5 separate regions of the Homo sapiens genome follow, and regions 1, 2, 3 and 4 are each linked to region 5. The links are contacts of gene promoters, found by promoter capture Hi-C in human tissues and cell types (Jung and others, 2019). All regions are on one chromosome and are shown on one strand. Each heading gives the region's core, a stretch centred on a gene start or on the middle of the fragment in contact. The rest is flanking DNA. Distances are from core to core; before and after follow the strand shown.

Evidence for each region. Contacts are between HindIII fragments. The study calls those that stand out against the background at their distance.
Region 1: the fragment with the promoter of PRSS33 here is called in contact with the fragment with the promoter of CEMP1 in region 5 in 4 of the 25 tissues and cell types used here (adrenal gland, heart right ventricle, spleen and 1 more).
Region 2: the fragment with the promoter of PRSS22 here is called in contact with the fragment with the promoter of CEMP1 in region 5 in 2 of the 25 tissues and cell types used here (adrenal gland and dorsolateral prefrontal cortex).
Region 3: a contact is called between the fragment with the promoter of RNPS1 here and the fragment with the promoter of CEMP1 in region 5, in 3 of the 25 tissues and cell types used here (IMR-90 fibroblasts, dorsolateral prefrontal cortex and lymphoblastoid cells).
Region 4: a contact is called between the fragment with the promoter of ECI1 here and the fragment with the promoter of CEMP1 in region 5, in 3 of the 25 tissues and cell types used here (dorsolateral prefrontal cortex, liver and lymphoblastoid cells).

The regions. Positions count from the first base shown.
Region 1 is chr16:2,786,174-2,788,873 of GRCh38, forward strand. PRSS33 (serine protease 33) reads right to left here and starts at 1,387. Exons shown (of 7, transcript NM_152891.3): 1 at 1,360-1,387; 2 at 329-431. The coding sequence starts at 374. The HindIII fragment of the contact is 27,852 bases long and covers 1-2,700 here.
Region 2 is chr16:2,856,888-2,859,587 of GRCh38, forward strand. It overlaps PRSS22 (serine protease 22), which reads right to left and starts at 1,283. Exons shown (of 6, transcript NM_022119.4): 1 at 1,136-1,283. The coding sequence starts at 1,217. RefSeq lists enhancers at 668-1,268, 1,269-1,869, 1,870-2,469. The HindIII fragment of the contact is 21,792 bases long and covers 1-2,700 here.
Region 3 is chr16:2,266,800-2,269,611 of GRCh38, forward strand. It overlaps RNPS1 (RNA binding protein with serine rich domain 1), which reads right to left and starts at 1,327. Exons shown (of 8, transcript NM_080594.4): 1 at 1,256-1,327. It overlaps MIR3677HG (MIR3677 and MIR940 host gene), which reads left to right and starts at 1,864. Exons shown (of 3, transcript NR_132988.1): 1 at 1,864-2,044. RefSeq lists an enhancer at 1,135-1,394 and a silencer at 1,525-1,974. The HindIII fragment of the contact is 10,724 bases long and covers 1-2,812 here.
Region 4 is chr16:2,250,151-2,252,850 of GRCh38, forward strand. ECI1 (enoyl-CoA delta isomerase 1) reads right to left here and starts at 1,437. Exons shown (of 7, transcript NM_001919.4): 1 at 1,365-1,437; 2 at 1,166-1,279. The coding sequence starts at 1,416. It overlaps LOC107984839 (a long non-coding RNA gene), which reads left to right and starts at 1,520. Exons shown (of 2, transcript XR_001752052.2): 1 at 1,520-1,843. RefSeq lists enhancers at 769-898, 1,829-1,888 and a silencer at 1,109-1,578. The HindIII fragment of the contact is 14,026 bases long and covers 146-2,700 here.
Region 5 is chr16:2,530,138-2,532,955 of GRCh38, forward strand. CEMP1 (cementum protein 1) reads right to left here and starts at 1,271. Exons shown (of 1, transcript NM_001048212.3): 1 at 1-1,271. The coding sequence starts at 936. The coding sequence ends at 193. AMDHD2 (amidohydrolase domain containing 2) reads left to right here. Exons shown (of 11, transcript NM_001330449.2): 11 at 1-1,280. MIR3178 (microRNA 3178) reads right to left here and starts at 1,868; the gene lies at 1,785-1,868. RefSeq lists enhancers at 1,674-1,723, 2,502-2,818, 2,504-2,553. The HindIII fragment of the contact is 25,225 bases long and covers 1-2,818 here.

The DNA of each region.
Region 1 (2,700 bases), core at 137-2,636, 260 kb after region 5:
GGAGTTGGAGGGGAGGCCAGAGATGAGGAAGGAGGGTGAAACAATGTTGCCCTGACATTGCGCCAGGCTTTCGTGCCGTCTGTTATCTTATTTAACCCTCCCCAGAGCACTGTGAAGGTGCAGGGGGCAAGGGCGTATGAGCATGACACCGACAAGCACATCGAGGTGTGGTGAGGTCAAGGTCAGTGGCAGAGAGGATTGAGCCCTTGGAATCAAGATTAGAAAGCCCAAGAGTGCTCCAGGGAGCCCGGCCCAGGGAGCAGTGAGATGGGAGAACTGGGAGCCAAGGTGTCTGCGGCCCTCACCCCCAGTCCCTGTCCCCACTCACCCAGCACCAGAAGGAGCAGGACCTGGAGACAGGAAACCCCTCTCATTCTGTCTTCAAGGCTGGGCTGGGTAAGGGTGGCACTGCCTAGGGCTTGGACTCTGGTCTGGAGCCAGCAGGGAGAAGAGAGGAGAGTCCTGGCCCAGGGGCACCAATCCTCACACCAGCCCGTCACCCCCTCCGTGGTCCTTCTGTCTGTCCTCAGCTCCTGGTGGGTTCTGGACTTATCCTGGTGGCCCAGGCTGTATACCCTTCGTTCTGCCCAGGGCCCAGGTATGCAGCACCCACCACCCAGATATTTGGGCATCCTTGGTCTCGACAGAAGCCCTGGAGCCTAACCCCCCTCGGTCATCCTCACTCCCTCCCTCATCCCCCTCCCCCATCCTCACCCCCTCCCTCATCCTCACCCCCTCCCTCATCCTCACTCCCTCCTCCATCCTCACCCCCCTCCTCCTCACTCCCCTCCCTTATCCTCACCCCTTCCCTCATCCTCATCCCTCTCTCATCCTCACCCCCTCCCTCATCCTCACCTCCTCCTCTATCCTCACCCCGTCCTCCATCGTCACCCCTGCTCCTCCTCACTCCCCTCCCTCATCCTCACCCCCTCCCTCATCCTCACCTCTCATCCTCACCCCTCTCTCATCCTCACCCCTCCCTCATCCTCACCCCTCCTCTATCCTCACCCCCTCCTCCATCCTCAGCCCCCTCCTCCTCACTCCCCTCCCTCATCCTCACCCCCTCCCTCATCCTCACCCCTGTCTCATCCTCACCCCCTCCCTCATCCTTCACCCCCTCCCTCATCCTCACTCCTCTCTCATCACCCCTCCTCCATCCTTCACCCCCCCATCGTCACCCCCTCCCTCATCCTCACCCCCTCCTCTATCCTCACCCCCTTCCTCCTCACTCCCCTCCCTCATCTTCACCACTTCCCTCATCCTCACCCCCTCCCCCATCCTTCACCCCTCCTCGTCCTCACCCTCATCCTCACCCACTGGCTGCCCCTGCAGCCCCCACAGCCCCTGGCTTGCTCTCACCCTCACAGCCTGGCGCCTTCTGCTGACTGGGGTTGAGGGAGGGCCTGGGGGCTTAAAGTGCCAGGAGAGCGCGAGGCTCAGCCAAGGAGTAATGAACAGGGCCGGGGCGGGGCTGTGGCTTTACCGGACCAGCCTCAAACAAAGATGCTTTGAGCAGAGCTTCAGAGGTGGCAGGAAAGGGTCAATGGGTTTCTCAAAGGAAGCCTGCCTTGCGCCAAGGTACTAGAAGTGGGGGCTGGCGGAGAGCAGTGGTGCGGGTAGGTGCTGGGAGGGGTGGCAGTCAGGTGGGGAAGCTCTGCAGGATCCGGGGCAACTCCTCTCCAAACCTGACCTGGGCTCCCTGCAGAGCACACGTTGCTGGAGCTTCTGCGCTCCATTGTTCTGTCCAGAAATCCCATCTCAGACGGAAGTCCTGGCCAGACAGCTCCACCCAGAGACCCCAGCATGGCCAGCCCCCTTCCAGATCCGGGGTCTGGAGCAGCTGGAGGTGGAAAGGGACTGGTTCAAAGTTGGTGGCACTCCTTACTTGACCAGAGGCAGGGGGAGACTTGACCTTGGGGACCAGTGCAGTCTTTGGTTTGGGGTGGCCGAGACAGAGCAAGATGCTGGGGTCAGGGGACAGGAACTCCCCTTCTCTCGAGGCCCGTGGAGGACCGGGGCCCGGATGGTCCAGGGCCCTGTAGTTCCCTCTTGGGCTCATACACAGTGTTCGCTGCCTAGAAGTCTCTCAAGTCCCTCTCTGCATAGTGAACTCCTCTTATCCCTCAGCCTTCTGCTCTGCCACCTCCTCCTGCCTCCTTTGCAGCCCTGCCATAGTTGTACTTTTTTCCTTTTTTTTTTTTTTGTTTTTCTTTCTTTTTTTTTTTAAAGAGACAGGGTCTTGGCCAAGCATGGTGGCTCATGCCTGTAATCCCTGCATTTTGGGAAGCCGAGATGGGTGGCTCATTTGAGGTCAGGGGTTTGAGACGAGCCTGGCCAACATGGTGAAACCTCGTCTCTACTAAAAATACAAAAATTAGCCAGGCCTGATGGTGGGCGCCTGCAATCTCAGCTACTCGGGAGGCTGAGGCACAGGAATTGCTTGAACCCGGGAGGTGGAAGTTGCAGTGAGCCGAGATTATGCCACTGCACTCCAGCCTGGGCGACGCAGTGAGATTCTGTCTCAAAAAAAAATAAAAAGGGAGAGAGAGACAGGGTCTTGCTCTGTCACCCAGGCTGGAGTGCAGTGGTACAATCACAACTCCCTGCGTCCTTGACCTCTGGGCTCAAGTGATCCTGCCACCTCAGCTTCCCAAGTAGTTGGGACCACAGGTGCATGCCACAGCACCTAGCAATTTTTTT
Region 2 (2,700 bases), core at 33-2,532, 330 kb after region 5:
CCCCAGGACACAGTGGTGAGGGGCCCTCAACGCCCAGTGAGGAAGGCCCCCAACACCCAGTAAGAAGGGATCCCAGTGCCCAGTGAGGTGGAGGTCCCAGCACCCAGTGAGGAGGGTCCCTCAGCGCCCAGTGAGGAGGGGTCCCAGCACCCCCTGAGGAGGGTCCCTCAGCGCCCAGTGAGGAGGGGTCCCAGTACCCAGTGAGGAGGGTCCCTCAGCGCCCAGCGAGAAGCCCCCAGCACCCAGTGAGAAGGGGTCCAGTGCCCAGTGGGAAGGGGTCCCAGCACCCAGTGAGGAGGGGTCCCCAGCGCCCAGTGAGGAGGGCTCCCCAGCGCCTAGTGAGGAGGGTTCCCCAGCGCCCAGTGAGGAGGGGTCCCCAGCGCCCAGTGAGGAGGGCTCCCCAGCGCCCAGTGAGGAGGGGTCCCCAGCGCCCAGTGACGAGGGGGTCCCAGCGCTCAGTGAGGAGGGGGTCCCAGCGCCCAGTGAGGAGGGGTCCCAGCGCCCAGTGAGCAGGCGTCCCAGCGCCCAGTGAGGAGGGGGTCCCCTTGAGTACCTGGTGGTGAGGAACCTCTAGCCCTCCAGTGCCCAGGGAGACTCTCAAGTCTCTCAACCCCAGGGCCCCTACCGGCGGGGCATTTCCTGGGGCCTGGCCAGGCCCTGGCTGCACAGCTGTGACCCTGCCCTCCCGCAGCTTCCCGTCCAGCCTGCCTTCCGGGGACCAGGACCGGCTCCTCGAGGGAGGCACAGACCTGAGCCCCTCGGCTCTGGACGCTGCTGCCGCTGGTGTGCCCTCCCCTGACCTCCTGCGGCAGGAACAACACAAAACGGTGCTTCCCCAGAGGCAAGCAGCGGAGGACGAGGAGATGGGAGAACACGGAGGCGAGAGGGAGCAGGCGATGGCGACGCCGACGGTAACTGGAGACCGAGGCGCGCTGCGTACTTGCTGCGTTTTCTGTTTCATCCTCACAGCCGTAGAAGAAACCGAGGCACAGAGCAGTTAAGGAGCAAGAGATAAACAGAGCAGAAGCGGAAAGGAGATGAGAGAGGCAAGGCCAGGAGGGAGAGAGGGAGGGAGGGAAGGAGGGAAGGAGGGTGGAGGTGAGAGGGAGGAGGGAGGAGCAGCCTCCGGACGTACCTGTCGACGCCAGCAGCAGCAGGGAGGTGAAGGTGCCGAGACAGCCCCCACCCAGGGCTGGGGGCGCTCCAGAAACCACCATGGCTGGTGGGGCGGGGGAGCAGGCAGCAGGCTCGAGAGACCCAGGGCGATGCGGGTCAGGGTGTGTAGGTTCCCTGCAGGTCGCCCCAGGTTTTATCCTGGGAGGCGGAATGCCGTCAGACCAGTCCCCAGGTGGCTCCCGCGGCCACCCCGGCTGTGGGTCCTGGGCAGAGGGCGGGGCTGCGGGGAGGAAGCCAGCCGCTACAGGGCTCTGGGGGGGCTCTAGCTGAGACCCCAGGATGTGGCCTCTGGAAGGGCAGGGGAGGGGGCTTGGGCCCAGAGGTCCCTGACATTAATTGTCCAGGGGCAGAGAAAGGTGCCAGGGCACTGAAAGGAAGGGGTTCCGGGCTGGGGAGGGCCTGGGTTTGGAGAGGCTGAAGTCTGGGGTACTGGGTGTTGGGGGTGGTCCTAGGGCCTTAGGGATCAAGGGGGTGCCCAAAGCTCAGTAACGGCTCCCACCTGCAGGGCCCCAGGCCCCTGTGACTCAGCCCAGAGACCTGGCGCAACCCGGGCTTGGGAATCCCGTTAACCCACTTCCCGAAAGCTGTGAATCAGGTGAGTGGCGACCTTGGTGGCCTCCTGGTGGCCGCCCTCCTGTCGTTCCTGGAGGCGGGGCTCTGCCCTGCGGTTCAGACACCTGACAACTCACCTCACCTGGACTCCTGGGAAGGGGAGGAGCCCATGGGCACCAGGGCTCGGCCAAGCAGGGGGGTTGAGAGAAGAGGGGCCCCGGGAAGGGCTGGGACTCCCAGGATTCAAAGAGCTGCTGGGCTGGGCTGTGGGGGGCCGGGTCCTGGGCTGGGAGTGGATTCTCGGTGCTTCCCCCCAGCGGCTGCCACAGTGGCAACCCGGGGCTGAATCCTGTGAGACCTTCCCTGACTCAGTGCCCTGCAGCGCCCCACACTTGGGACACTCCCACCCAAGCAGGGCAGGCTTCCTCCTCTACAAAGAGGCAGGAGCCTGCGCCCCTTCACTCATTCGATCAACAAGCCTCCAGCAGGGCCCTTGCTACCGCCGGGGGTGAATTAAAAACAACCATAGTGTCTGGGTGGGGTGGCTTATTCCTGTAATCCCAGCACTTTGGGAGGCCAAGACGGACAGATCATGAGGTCAGGAGTTCAATACCAGTCTGGCCAACATAGTAAAACCCCGTCTCTACTAAAAATACAAAAAAAAAAAAATTAGCCAGGCATGGTGGCAGGCGCCCTTAGTCCCATCTACTTGGGAGGCTGAGGCAGGAGAATCGCTTGAACCTGGGAGGCGGAGGTTGCAGTGAGCTGAGATCACGCCACTGCACTCCAGCCTGGGCGACAGAGCGAGACTCTGTTTCAAAAAAAAAAAAAAAAAACCATAGTAGTGAATATGTATGTAATAAATATATTTATACAAATATAAATATAGTATTTATATAATAGAGCAAACATTTAGGAGTGCCATGCATTGCCTCCTAATCCTCAAATGTCTTTATTATTCCCACTCTGCAG
Region 3 (2,812 bases), core at 77-2,576, 260 kb before region 5:
TTTGACACATCCAAAATATTATCTTTCCAACATATAATCAACATAAACATCTAATAAAAGTTTGCTTTTTTCCTAGTCTTCTAAAACTGGTGTGTGTTTTAATATTTCAGTCTTGATTAGCTGTATTTCACATGCTTAGCAGCCACATGTGGCCAATGGCTACTTGGCTGGACAGCACAGACCTAGAGTGGAGGTCACACCCGCAGATTCCAGCCCCACCCCCCCAAGAACTAAGATCTGCCCGAATGTACTTGGTGAAATCAAACACCACCAGTTATTCTTAAGCACTCCAAACACTAAGAACCACTGAGTAAGCGGACGCCTTGCTGGGTGCGGTCGAGTGCTAGAAAGCAAAAGTTGAGGTTCTCTGTTCACCCAAGTTCAGGTACCGGCTCAGGACCTCGGTTACCTCCCCCATCCTCCGGAAAGGTGCGCGTCCAACAGCCAGAGAGAGGAGAGAACAATTAGTTAAATCTCGAGGAGAGGGCGTTTCGGCACAAATCTTCAGAGCACCTTCCCCATTTAAAAGTACATTTCAGGCACAGTTCATGCGGAATCAAGACAAAAAGCCTACTCCACGTTTCTCCTCCAACAAACTTAACCTTCCCGTATCCGCCCCTCTGGGGTAACCCATCAAACTGAGCTCGGCCACCGTGCTCGGTCCATAGTGGGCCGTATCCCCACGGCCTAGCGCCGATAATTGCACACGGGAGTCCGGGAAACGTTCGCGGAGTACACGTTTGAATTAATGACTCCGAAGGGGGGATCGGCCGACCTTCCACCGCATCCCACAAAGAAACTCCGCGCCCGCCGACACCGGCCCGACACGCCGACCTCGCCGCTACCCGTCCGCGTTCACTCACAACTCCCCCGTCCAGGCGCCGGGCCGCGAGCGCTTCCAGGGCAGGGCCTGGCGTTGGGGGCTTGGGTCTCCGGCCCGGCGGGAGGGCCCCAAGGGCGGAGGCCGCGCTCCCCGCTGGTCTGAGTCCCGCGGGCCTGGCTGGGCCACCGCCGAGCGGACGAAGCACAGGCGCCCTTCCGTCCGCAGCGGCCCCGACCACTTCCGGGCCACGGCCTCGACACCTCCCACTCCGCCCGCCCCGGGCCACACTCTTTCTTCTCGGAGCCCGCACCGCGCTGCCAGGCCACCGCCGCACTGCGGGGCTGAGGAGTGGACCGGCTTCACGAGGCGTCCTGCCGGGCCTGCCGGGCAGCCCCCGAAACACGGATGCAGTCGGATTCCGCCCCAACTTACATCTTCCCGCCGCCGCCACCTCCTCCTGCTTTCCTCAGCCGCCGAGGCCGGCGCCGCTCTGACGTCAGAGTCAAGGAGCGGGAAGTCGCCGCCGCCCGGCGCGCAGCGATGACGTAAACGCCTGGCCCAATGGGCGCCAGCGAGGAAGCGTTAAAGAGTCAAGGCAGTTTGTGGGAGTCGCGCTGGGGACGTTCAAGGTGTCTCCTAGCCGGTAAAGTCCCTGGGACTGACCGGGCTGGTTGCACGCTTACTGGAGCGGGCACATGGGTAGCCTGTTGAACCTGGGAGGGCAGCGCGATGACCGAGGCTCGTCCTCCGGCGCGGAGGGTGTTAACGCGCCCGTGCCCCGCCCCTTTCCTTGCGCGGGCGCACTGGGCCCGCCCGGGCAGACTCCGGCCCCTGTCGCCGGCGGTGGAGGCGGGGCTCCGGGCCGGGCTGTGCTGAGGCCGGCGGGGTGGTAGCACAGGAGGGGTTCGCAGGCTCTGCGGCCGTGCGTGGCGGGGCGTGGGGGCCCGCAGGGCGGAAGTAGCTCGGAGAGACGGGCTGGGGCAGGGCGTGCGTTCGTGCGGTCAAAATCCACTGGTGGCGTTTGGGGTGTTCCCGTGGACGCGGCCTCCCGGCAGGCGGACCTCCACCGGGTGGGCGCGGCAGGCGGGCTGTGCGGGCAGGAAGAGCGACGAGCTTGAGAGTGGGAGATGGGGTGCAACGGCGGGCCTCTCCGGGGAGGTGACACTGCCGCTGAGACCCGAATGGAAGGGCGCGCCCGGCGGGGGAACAGCAGGCGCCGAGGTTCGCTGGAAGCAGGGAAGGGAGGCCCGGGTACCGGCTCGCAGGCCCGCGCGAGCTTCGCGGCAGCGGCACGGAGCGTGTGAACGGCGCAGCGCCGAGGCTTCATCCATCGGCCGGTGCAGGGTCCGGGCAGGGAGCACTGTCGACCAGGGTCCGACCCTGGGAGAGTCCAGAGGTGGCGCCTCTGGCAGGGACAGAGGAGGGGGTGACGCTGTAGGGGTGCAGGCAGGAGGCTCCGCGTCAACTCCCCACACTGACGGGGCGGATTTTTTTTTTTTTTTGACAGAGTCTCGCACTGTTGCCCAGGCTGGAGTGCAGCGGCGCGATCTCGGCTCACTGCAACCTCCGCCTCCCGGGTTCAAGCGATTCTCCTGCCTCAGCCTCCCGAGTAGCTGGGATTACAGGCGCACACTACCACACCCGGCTAATTTTTTTTGTATTTTTCTGGTAGAGACAGGGTTTCACTATGTTGGCCAGACTGGTCGAGAACTCCTGACCTCGTGATCCGCTCCTAGGTTCGCCTTGGCCTCCCAAAGTGCTCGCTCCTGGGCGTCCCAAAGTGCTGGGATTACAGGCGTGAGCCACCGCCCCCGGCCGAGGGCGGGTTTTGTTCTCTGCTGTGCCTGTCAGGCAGTCGTTGCCCTGTGGTTATTTGTGGAGGGATTGACGGTGCGCTGAGCTTCAGACTTTGTCTGAACAGCTTCGTGGCAGCAAGGAAGGGAGAAGGGAACAGATCCAAGCCGATCTTTGGGAGGAGAGAACCAGCAT
Region 4 (2,700 bases), core at 187-2,686, 280 kb before region 5:
TGGGAGGCTGAGGAGGGAGAATCGCTTGAACCCAGGAGGCACAGGTTGCAGTGATCGGAGATTGCGCCACTGCACTCCAGTCTGGCGACTGGAGAGCAAGACTACATCTCCAAAAAAAAAAAAAAAAAAAAAAAAAGTCAGTTTGAAGTTGGTCTTAGTTTGTCCCTCTCAAGTTTGTAGAGAGAGCCCAGGCAGCTCCCTCAGCCCAGACAGAGAGGACGGAACCAAGTTCAGAGGCACCAGGAGCCTGGAGTCCTGAAGCTGTGCAAAGTTGGGCACAGCCCTGAGTCTGGGGGGTTGGGGAGGGCAGGGGCTGTGACTTACTTGCGGAGGGGGAGGGCCTCCTCTCAGGAGCCACAGCAGGGACTGCTGCACCGGGAGGTCCAGGTCAGCATGTCCTGGAAGCAGAACTGCTGGCGCCTAGGCGTGCCCTCTCGGTGCCCTCAGCTCGGCCTCCTGTCTGGAGGGAGCGCACAGGCTTCTCTTCCAAAAGTACTTTTTCTATCCTTTCCAGTGGGTTTTACCAAGGGTTCTGACGGGCGGGTAGGTACGAGGTTCTGTGCCACATGGGAGTGTTAACAAACGTAATTTTATTCCAAAAGATTCCAATTCTTTTCCACTTCCAATTGAATAACTTAGATAACAGCTCATATCCCCGCCAACTTTATTTTTATTTATTTATTTATTTTGAGACGGAATCTTGCTCTGTGGCCCAAGCTGGAGTGCAGTGGCACAATCTCGGCTCACTGCAGCCTCCACCTCCCAGATTCCAGCGATTCTTCTGCCTCAGCCTCCCAGGCATAGGCACGCACCACCACGCCCAGCTAATTTTTTTCTTTTGTATTTTTCAGTACAGATAGGGTTTCATCATGTTGGCCAGGCTGATCTCGAACTCCTGACCTCAGGTGATCCGCCCGCCTCTGCCTCTTAAAGTGCTAGGATTACAGGCGTGAGCCACCGCGCCCGGCCTCCGCCAACTTTAAAAACAGAAACTTTTATCTCATGACGAACGAACCCAGGTAGAGCGGCAAGGTTCTGTTTCGAAACTTGGGTTCTAAACACAAACCGAGCGTCGACAGACGTGGTTCTCCGACAGCACCCCGCGAGCGCGGACCCCCGCGGGTCCTGACCCCACGCCCGCCCTCCCTCGGCGCCGCCCGCTCACCTGCGCCCGCGTCCGGCTCCACCAGCACCCGCTGGCTCCCGAAGCGCCGCGCGCCGTCTCCGCCGCCGGCCGCCCGCTCCGTCCGCCCGAGGGCCGCGCCCGGGAGCCGGGCCCCTGCGAAGGCAGCGTGGGGGAGCCCGTTAGTTCCCGGTCCTGGCCCCGGCCCCGGCCCGATCCCTGCCCACCCCGGGTTTCGCACCCGCGCGGAGCAGAACGCGCGCCGGGACTCGCACAGAAGCCACCAGCGCCATCTTGACCGCAACGCGCGGGATAAAGGTCGCGGGCTGAGCTCGCCTCCTGGGGAGGGGGCGGAGCCCCCCCAACTAGGTCCCGCCCCGTTCCCAGAGGCTGGTCAACGCCTCCACCTACCGGCCGAAACAGCCGCTCGCCGCCCTCCGGCTTCACCCCGGGCAGCCGCGCGCTTCCGGGGCAGGCACCTGGATCTGGGCCAGGGCTGGCCTACAAGGAGGCGCAGGCCCACTGCTGAAGCAGCCACGACCAGCTCAGCGCCAGGGCAGGCTCTTCTACAGCGCGGGACACTGTAGGCAAGAGGCTGCCGGTGTTCGTGACCGCGAGCTCTCGGCCGGGCCCAGCTACTGCAGTATCGGCGCTGGAAAGGCGATCAAAGCACGGAACCCCTCCCGAGGGGGCCGTCAGGGAGGCCAGGGGCTGCCTGGGGTGAGCCCGGCCTCCTGCCCCTTTGGGAACAGGATCAGAGCTGCAGGTTTAGTCACCGAAATGGGGGTGGGGGCAGCAGAACCCAGCGGTAAGAACAGGCCACCCGCCTTGCTCAGCACAAGGGCAAGTGCACAAAGGCCGGACCGCAGTGGCACCTTTTTATTTGCAGAGAAATGCCGAAAGATAAGAATACAGTCTGTTCCCGCTGGGCCGTAAGCGGCAGCTCGGGAGTGGGCCTTTGTACTGTCTGGTGTGGGGTTTTGGTCAGACCACTGGGAGCACTGGGCAGTAAGGTCCCAGCTGTGTTGGGTGGTCTCAACTTTTGTTCTCATCTTAAGCATTTCCAATTCTTCCTTGTGTCCCAAACCAATTTTTGAGGTGGAAAAATGGCCACTTAACGGAGGAGGAAGCAAGCCTGGCATGGTGACACACACCTGTAACCCCAGTGACTCAGGACCAGCTGGGTAACATAGCAACAACTTGTTGCTACAAAAAATTCTTAAAAATTAGCTCCTGCTGCTGGGCGCGGTGGCTCATGCCTGTAATCCCAGCACTTTGGGGGCCAAGGTGGGCAAATCATGAGGTCAGGAGTTTGAGACCAGCCGGGCCAATATGATGAAACGCCGTCTCTACTAGAAATACAAAAAATTAGCTGGGCATGGTGGCAGGTGCCTGTAATTCCAGCTACTCAGGAGGCTGAGGCAGGAAAATCACTTGAACCCAGGAGGCAGAGGTTGTAGTGAGCCAATATTGCGCCACTGCACTCCAACCCAGGCAACAGAGACTGTCTCAAAAAAAAAATTAAAAAATTAAAAAAAAATTAGCCCCTGCTACTCTGGACACTGAAGAAGGAGTTG
Region 5 (2,818 bases), core at 21-2,520:
GGGAGACTGGGCCCGGGACCCCTGTTTTCTGCTCCCTGGACTGCCTAGCCCTGAGTGCCACGGATGACCAGCGTTCTGTTTTCTCTTCTCAATAACCCTATCTCTTCACACATCCCCAGGCCCAGTGCTTGCCGGCTGTGGTGACCCTGCCTGGTGCTGGAGGGCAGTATGGGAGGCACCAGTGTGCCCTGCTCACCCCATTAGTGTCATCCTGCCATCTTCTGTGTCCCCTTGGCCCTGGCACACACCCATGTGGCAAACACGGGCCGTGAGGCTCCCTGAACAGCTTCGAGGCGGGTGGGCTTCTGGAGCCCTCTTGGCTCTGAGGACAGCCACAGTGGGGTCAGACGTCAGGGATTGGTGCAGCCCCACGTCAGGGGTGATTGTCTTGACTTTCTCTCCATTTGAGTTCTGGGGTGGGTGGCTCCCTTCCCCCTTGCTTACAGGTGCTGTCCTGGGCACAGGAGGTACGCGCCTGGCTCTGCCACTGTTCTCTTCCCTCTGCTGCAAAGCCCAGTTAAGGAAATGTCTCCAGGTCCAAAGAGATAGGATGGTCTGGGCCCCACCTGTTGGAAGGGAACAGCCAGGGAAGAACCACCTGCCTGGGCAGGGCCTCGCCTGAGGGAGGGCCTGGGGCAGGGCACAAGGGGTTGATCTCAGCCCACAAGCCCCAGGGGCAGCCCAGGAAAGCAGGCGACGGATGTGGATCCTGACCTCCTGAGAGGTGTGAGGTGCAGGGATACCCACCTCTGCCTTGACGGCCGCGCACCCCTTAGGAAGTGGCTGTCCAGCGCCTGCCTGTGCTGGGCCTGGGAGAGGAGCTGTCTTGCCAGGGCTCCCAGGCAGGGAGAGGCAGGTGAGGTTCTCAGCCGATGTGTTAGAGGTTGAGCATCGCCTGTGCCCAGCTTGCTGGCTGTCAGTGCTTGATGTGCCCATCCTCAGCTAAAACCCAGAGCTGGCATGTTGGTCATCCCCACCTCAGACGGGACGCCCAGTCCAGAGCTGGTGAGCCCTGGGCCAGCCTTTGGGCCTGGCCTGCCCCATTCACCGGCCAGCGCCCCACCTCCCTGGCTGGAGGGTCGGGGAGGGGCTGGCAGAGATGGTTGGTCCACAGGGCTAGCCCTGGGTGGTGGGAGAGGGGCCCAGGGTCAGGGTGAGAGAGAGCTGGGCCAGGGAGCTGCTGCAGGATGATTTTGAGGTGTGGGGGAAGCACTCTTGGTTGGTTTTGGTTTGCTTTTTAAAAATTGTGGTAAAATACATAACAAAAGTAACTATCGTAACCTGAGCAGTTCTGTGACATGAAGTGAATTCACTGCTTTGTGTGACCTTGGCCACCATCATTCCCCACCACTCACTCCCGCTGGGCTCCCAGCCCTGCCCCACCATTCCGCTCCCTCTACAGCTATGGGTTTTACAAAGAAGGATGCAGGGCGCCCTGACTGCGGGGTGAGGGGCAGGCCTGCCCGCGGTGTGGGCATTCGCTGAAGGGGGACGCCCAGGTGTCTGCCTGAGTTACGGGTTGGGGGGTCGGGCATGTGGGGAGGGATGGAGTTGGAGGTGCATGCTCTCAGAGCTGGTAGGGGTGGCCCGTTTCGTCCCGTGTGTGAACTGGAGATGAGACCCGGCGCCTGCGATCCCGCAGACCGCGCCCGGCCGGGTGTCACTTGTGGGCGCACGCTGCCGGGATGCTGGGCCGAGCCCGCGGTTTAAGACCCAGATCTCAGCCAGGTCCCTTTCGCCGTCCGAGCCTCTGCACCTCGTGGGCTCCGAGCACATCCAGGCCAGAGACTGCGTTTGGGGCGTGGGCACGGGAGACCGTCATCAGCCAGGACGCTCTCGACCGATCCGGCCGCGCCCCGCCCAGCCTCGTAGCGCAGGCGCTGAGTCCAGGCTGACGCGCAACTCTGGGAGCGTTGCGGCACGCGGGGCCTTGCCTACTGTGGGAGGGGCTTCTGGGGGCGGGCTTCTGTCGGGCCAATTAGGATCGCCGCAGGGAAGGCACGCGCCGCGGCTGAGCAACAGGGGCGCGCGTCACCTTCTCTAGTTAACCCGCGCGGCCCCGGGCACAGAGCCCGAGGCTGCGCGGTCCCCGGCGGGCCCGCGGACCCCCCCCATCTCTGCGCCCCCCACATCTCTGCGGACCCCGCCTCGCCCCAGCCCTCCCATCCACAACCCTCACAACCTTGCATACCCCGCTACGCTCCCCACCGCGCCCTCACATTCCTGCAGACCCCGTCTCCCCACAACGCTCCCCGCCAACGCTGCGGAGCTCCGCGTCGCCCCAGCGCTCCCTGCCAAGCCCCCCACACCCCTGTAGACCCCGCCTCGCCCCAACCCTCCGAGCTGCTCCCCTTATACCCTTGCGGACCTAGTTTGTTTCGTCCCAGTCCTCCCCGTCGCGTCTCCCACATCCCTGCGGACCTCCCCGCGCCTCGCCTCTCCCTTCTGTTACGTATCACGCACAGGTGGATCCCACTACGACCCAGCTTGGCTCCTGTCCCGCACCTCCGCACCTGGCCTCTAGCCCCGCCCTCACTGTCTTGGGAAATGAAGCGGAGGGGTGGGCCGGACACTCTAGAAGCACCCTGGCTCGGAGCTTCCCTAGCTCGGAGTTGGTTTGGAGCCCAGGCTAGGGACCCAGGGTGGGCGCAGCAGGGGAGATTGGCACCAGAAGCGTGGAGGAAGGGCACCTCTTCAGCCCGGCTTTTCCGCCCCTGGAGTCTGGGACAGCTCCGGAGCGTCCGGGTACTCCCTCCCAGACTGGCCCTGTTCCTTTTATCACATTTATGTCACACACGTTTTTTCTAAATGGGTTTAC